Linked DNA regions of Homo sapiens: region 1 is linked to region 2. The links are contacts of gene promoters, found by promoter capture Hi-C in human tissues and cell types (Jung and others, 2019). All regions are on one chromosome and are shown on one strand. Each heading gives the region's core, a stretch centred on a gene start or on the middle of the fragment in contact. The rest is flanking DNA. Distances are from core to core; before and after follow the strand shown.

Evidence for each region. The method cuts DNA at HindIII sites, captures the fragments that hold promoters and counts their contacts. A contact is called where the count stands out against the background at its distance.
Region 1: a fragment that was not itself captured here is called in contact with the fragment with the promoter of CEMP1 in region 2 in 2 of the 25 tissues and cell types used here (dorsolateral prefrontal cortex and lymphoblastoid cells).

The regions. Positions count from the first base shown.
Region 1 is chr16:2,381,189-2,384,255 of GRCh38, reverse strand. It overlaps the pseudogene ABCA17P. Among named protein-coding and RNA genes, the nearest start is that of ABCA3, 42 kb to the right of the region's middle. The HindIII fragment of the contact is 4,418 bases long and covers 1-3,067 here.
Region 2 is chr16:2,529,815-2,532,757 of GRCh38, reverse strand. It overlaps CEMP1 (cementum protein 1), which reads left to right and starts at 1,350. Exons shown (of 1, transcript NM_001048212.3): 1 at 1,350-2,723. The coding sequence starts at 1,685. The coding sequence ends at 2,428. AMDHD2 (amidohydrolase domain containing 2) reads right to left here. Exons shown (of 11, transcript NM_001330449.2): 11 at 1,341-2,943. MIR3178 (microRNA 3178) reads left to right here and starts at 753; the gene lies at 753-836. RefSeq lists enhancers at 68-117, 1-119, 898-947. The HindIII fragment of the contact is 25,225 bases long and covers 1-2,943 here.

The DNA.
Region 1 (3,067 bases), core at 269-2,768, 150 kb after region 2:
TTGTGTTCATAGATTGGAACACTTAATTTTGTTAATATGACATTACTATCCAAAGCAATCTAGAGGCTGGGTGCAGTGGCTCATACCTGTAATCCCAGCATTTTGGGAGGCCGAAGTGGGTGGATCACCTGAGGTCAGGAGGTCGAGATCAGCCTGGCCAACATGGTGAAACCCTGTCTCTACTAAAAATACAAAAAAATTAGCCAGGCATGGTGGCACACACCTGTAATCCCAGCTACTCGGGAGTCAGAGGCAGGAGAATCGCTTGAACCCAGGAGGCAGTGGTTGCAGTGAGCTGAGATTGAGCCTTTGCACTCCAGCCTAGGCAACAGAGCAAGACTCCATCTCAAAAAAATAAAAATAAACACAAAGCAATCTAGAGATTCAATGTAATCCCTACTAAAATTCCAATACCTTATTATTATTATTATTATTTTTTTTTTTTGCAAAAATAGGCAAGCTGATCCTAAAAATTCATATAGAAATGCAAGGGACTCAGAATAGCCAAAACAATCTTAAAAAGAAGAACAAAGTTGGAGGACTCATATTTCCTAATTTCAAAACTTCCTAGAAAGTTACAGTCATTGAGACATTGTGGTACTGGCATAACAACCGACATATGGAACAATGGAATAGAATTGGGAGTCTAGAAACAATCCCATATATCTATGGTAAATAGACTTTTTACAAGGATGCCATGACCATTCAATGGGGAAGGAATAGTCTTTTCAACAAATAGTGCTGAGACAACTTAATATCTATATGAAAAAGAATAAATGTAGACCCATACCTCACACCATATACAAAAATGTACTCATAATGGACCAAAGATCTAAATCTAAGAACCAAAGCTATGAAATCTTAAAAAGAAATATAAGTATAAATCCTAGACGATAATTTTTAAAATATAATAGCAAAAGCGTAAGTAACAAATAAAAAAAAGATAAATTAGATTTCATCAAAATTTAAAACTTTTGTTTTAAATTTAAAAATACTATCAATAAAGGGAAAAGACAATCCACAGAGTAGGAGAAAATATTTGCAAATCATATAACTAACAAGGGCCTAGGATCTAGAATATACACTTAAAAACTTTTTACAGGCTGGGTGCGGTGGCTCACGACTATAATCTCACTTAGCACTCTGAAAGACGAAGGCGAGAGGATCATTTGAACTCAGGAGTTTGAGACCAGCCTGGGCAACATGGTAAAACCCCATTTTTACAAAAAAATACGAAAATTAGCCAGGCAATTGGCCTGTACCTGTGGTCCCAGCTACTTGCGAGGCTGAGGCAGGATGATCACTTGAGCCTGGGAGGCAGAGATTGCAGTGAGGTGAGATCCTGTCACTGCACTCCAGCCTGGGCAACAAAGTGAGAGGTGAGAGGCTGTCTCAAAAAAAAAAAAAAAAAAAGCTGGGCACAGTGGCTCACATCTGTAATCCCAGCACTTTGGGAGGCTGAGGCTGGTGGATCGCCTGAGGTCAGGAGTTTGAAACCAGCCTGGCCAACATGGTGAAACCCTGTTTCTACTAAAAATACAAAAAAAAAAAAAAAAAAAAAAAATCAGTCAGGCGTGGTGGTGCACGTCTGTAATCCCAGCTGCTGAGGAGGCTAAGGCAGGAGAATCGCTTGAACCTGGGAGGCAGAGGATGCAGTGAGCCAAGATCGCACCATTGCACTCCAGCCTGGGTGACAGAGTGAGACTTCATCTCAAAAAAAAAAAAATGGAAAGAAAACAAAAACAAAAAAAACTCTTACAGCTCAACTACAAAAAGATAAAGAACCCAACCAAAAAAACAGGCAAAGGACTGGAATAGATATCTCTCCAAAGAAGTATACAAATAGCCAATAAGCACATGAAGAGATGCTCAACATTATTAGTCAACAGAGAAATGCAAATCAAAACCACAAGGTACTACTTCACACTAACGGCAATTTCTCAAAAAGTAAAACAAACAAACAAACAAAAAAGTTAAACATAGAGTTACCATCTGACCCATTAATTTCACTTATAGGTATTTACCCAAAATAACTGAAAATAGGTGTTCAAACAAAAACGTGAACACTAATGTTCATAGCAGCACTATTCACAATAGCCAAAGGGTGAAAGCAACCCGATGTCCATCAGCTGAGGAATGGGCAAACATTCAGGTGAGTAGAATGGATATTATGCAGCTATTAAAAGGAGTGAAGTACAAATATATACTAAAATATGGATAAACCTTGAAAACATTATGTTAAGTGAAATAAGCCAGACATAAAAAGCCACATATTGTATGACTCCATTTATATGAAATATCCAGGATAGGCAAACCCATAGAAACAGAAAGCAGATTAGTGGTTGCCAGGGACTAGGGGAAGGGAGCAATGGGAAGTCACTGATAATGTGTATAAGTTTATTTTGTGGGCAATGAAAATGTTCTGCAATAAGATAGTGGTGATGGTTACATGGCATTGTGAGTATACAGGCTGGGCACGGTGGCTCATACCTGTAATCCTAGCACTTTGGGAGGCTGAGGTGGGTGGATCACTTGAGGTCAGGAGTTTGAGACAAGCCTGGCCAACATGGCGAAACCCCATCTCTACTAACAATATAAAAATTAGGCCAGGCCCAGCACTTTGGGAAGCCGAGGCGGGTGGATCATGAGATCAGGAGATTGAGACCATCCTGGCCAACATGGTGAAACCCTGTGTCTACTAAAAATACAAAAATGCTGGGTGTGGTGGCATGCGCCTGTAGTCCCAGCTACTCAAGAGGCTGAGGCAGGAGAATCACTTGAACCCGGGAGGCAGAGGTTGCAGTGAGCCAAGATTGCGCCACTGCACTGCAGCCTGGGTGACAGAGTGCGACTCCGTCTCAAAAAAAAAAAGCACACACACACACAAATTAGCTAGGCATGGTTGCAGGTGCACGTAATCCCAGCTACTTGGGAGGCTGAGGCACGAGAATCGCTTGAACCCAGGAGGTGGAGGCTGCAGCGAGCTGAGATGGTGCTACTGCATTCCAGCCTGGGCAACAGAGTGAGACTCTGAAAAAAACAACAACAACAAAACAACAAAACACTG
Region 2 (2,943 bases), core at 101-2,600:
CAAACCAACTCCGAGCTAGGGAAGCTCCGAGCCAGGGTGCTTCTAGAGTGTCCGGCCCACCCCTCCGCTTCATTTCCCAAGACAGTGAGGGCGGGGCTAGAGGCCAGGTGCGGAGGTGCGGGACAGGAGCCAAGCTGGGTCGTAGTGGGATCCACCTGTGCGTGATACGTAACAGAAGGGAGAGGCGAGGCGCGGGGAGGTCCGCAGGGATGTGGGAGACGCGACGGGGAGGACTGGGACGAAACAAACTAGGTCCGCAAGGGTATAAGGGGAGCAGCTCGGAGGGTTGGGGCGAGGCGGGGTCTACAGGGGTGTGGGGGGCTTGGCAGGGAGCGCTGGGGCGACGCGGAGCTCCGCAGCGTTGGCGGGGAGCGTTGTGGGGAGACGGGGTCTGCAGGAATGTGAGGGCGCGGTGGGGAGCGTAGCGGGGTATGCAAGGTTGTGAGGGTTGTGGATGGGAGGGCTGGGGCGAGGCGGGGTCCGCAGAGATGTGGGGGGCGCAGAGATGGGGGGGGTCCGCGGGCCCGCCGGGGACCGCGCAGCCTCGGGCTCTGTGCCCGGGGCCGCGCGGGTTAACTAGAGAAGGTGACGCGCGCCCCTGTTGCTCAGCCGCGGCGCGTGCCTTCCCTGCGGCGATCCTAATTGGCCCGACAGAAGCCCGCCCCCAGAAGCCCCTCCCACAGTAGGCAAGGCCCCGCGTGCCGCAACGCTCCCAGAGTTGCGCGTCAGCCTGGACTCAGCGCCTGCGCTACGAGGCTGGGCGGGGCGCGGCCGGATCGGTCGAGAGCGTCCTGGCTGATGACGGTCTCCCGTGCCCACGCCCCAAACGCAGTCTCTGGCCTGGATGTGCTCGGAGCCCACGAGGTGCAGAGGCTCGGACGGCGAAAGGGACCTGGCTGAGATCTGGGTCTTAAACCGCGGGCTCGGCCCAGCATCCCGGCAGCGTGCGCCCACAAGTGACACCCGGCCGGGCGCGGTCTGCGGGATCGCAGGCGCCGGGTCTCATCTCCAGTTCACACACGGGACGAAACGGGCCACCCCTACCAGCTCTGAGAGCATGCACCTCCAACTCCATCCCTCCCCACATGCCCGACCCCCCAACCCGTAACTCAGGCAGACACCTGGGCGTCCCCCTTCAGCGAATGCCCACACCGCGGGCAGGCCTGCCCCTCACCCCGCAGTCAGGGCGCCCTGCATCCTTCTTTGTAAAACCCATAGCTGTAGAGGGAGCGGAATGGTGGGGCAGGGCTGGGAGCCCAGCGGGAGTGAGTGGTGGGGAATGATGGTGGCCAAGGTCACACAAAGCAGTGAATTCACTTCATGTCACAGAACTGCTCAGGTTACGATAGTTACTTTTGTTATGTATTTTACCACAATTTTTAAAAAGCAAACCAAAACCAACCAAGAGTGCTTCCCCCACACCTCAAAATCATCCTGCAGCAGCTCCCTGGCCCAGCTCTCTCTCACCCTGACCCTGGGCCCCTCTCCCACCACCCAGGGCTAGCCCTGTGGACCAACCATCTCTGCCAGCCCCTCCCCGACCCTCCAGCCAGGGAGGTGGGGCGCTGGCCGGTGAATGGGGCAGGCCAGGCCCAAAGGCTGGCCCAGGGCTCACCAGCTCTGGACTGGGCGTCCCGTCTGAGGTGGGGATGACCAACATGCCAGCTCTGGGTTTTAGCTGAGGATGGGCACATCAAGCACTGACAGCCAGCAAGCTGGGCACAGGCGATGCTCAACCTCTAACACATCGGCTGAGAACCTCACCTGCCTCTCCCTGCCTGGGAGCCCTGGCAAGACAGCTCCTCTCCCAGGCCCAGCACAGGCAGGCGCTGGACAGCCACTTCCTAAGGGGTGCGCGGCCGTCAAGGCAGAGGTGGGTATCCCTGCACCTCACACCTCTCAGGAGGTCAGGATCCACATCCGTCGCCTGCTTTCCTGGGCTGCCCCTGGGGCTTGTGGGCTGAGATCAACCCCTTGTGCCCTGCCCCAGGCCCTCCCTCAGGCGAGGCCCTGCCCAGGCAGGTGGTTCTTCCCTGGCTGTTCCCTTCCAACAGGTGGGGCCCAGACCATCCTATCTCTTTGGACCTGGAGACATTTCCTTAACTGGGCTTTGCAGCAGAGGGAAGAGAACAGTGGCAGAGCCAGGCGCGTACCTCCTGTGCCCAGGACAGCACCTGTAAGCAAGGGGGAAGGGAGCCACCCACCCCAGAACTCAAATGGAGAGAAAGTCAAGACAATCACCCCTGACGTGGGGCTGCACCAATCCCTGACGTCTGACCCCACTGTGGCTGTCCTCAGAGCCAAGAGGGCTCCAGAAGCCCACCCGCCTCGAAGCTGTTCAGGGAGCCTCACGGCCCGTGTTTGCCACATGGGTGTGTGCCAGGGCCAAGGGGACACAGAAGATGGCAGGATGACACTAATGGGGTGAGCAGGGCACACTGGTGCCTCCCATACTGCCCTCCAGCACCAGGCAGGGTCACCACAGCCGGCAAGCACTGGGCCTGGGGATGTGTGAAGAGATAGGGTTATTGAGAAGAGAAAACAGAACGCTGGTCATCCGTGGCACTCAGGGCTAGGCAGTCCAGGGAGCAGAAAACAGGGGTCCCGGGCCCAGTCTCCCTCCTGGAGGTCAGAGCGGAGCCCCTGGCACTGTGCCCTGGCCCAGAACCAGGCTGTGGGCTCCACGCTGCACACCCCAACTCAGGAGCAGAAAGCAAACCCCTGACTGTCCACACTCCCTGTGACTGGTCCCCTTCCTGCCGGCTCTTCACCCCCAGCCCATGGTGGCTTCACCCCATGGCACCAGCCACTGACTGCCTGCCCCTCCCTCCCATAGTGACACTTTCCTGGGGTCTGCAGGTCTCCGGTCCACTTCATGCAGACAGGCCCTGTCCCCCACTGGGGCCCAAGGCCCAGGCTAAACTACAGCCCAGCCATCCCACC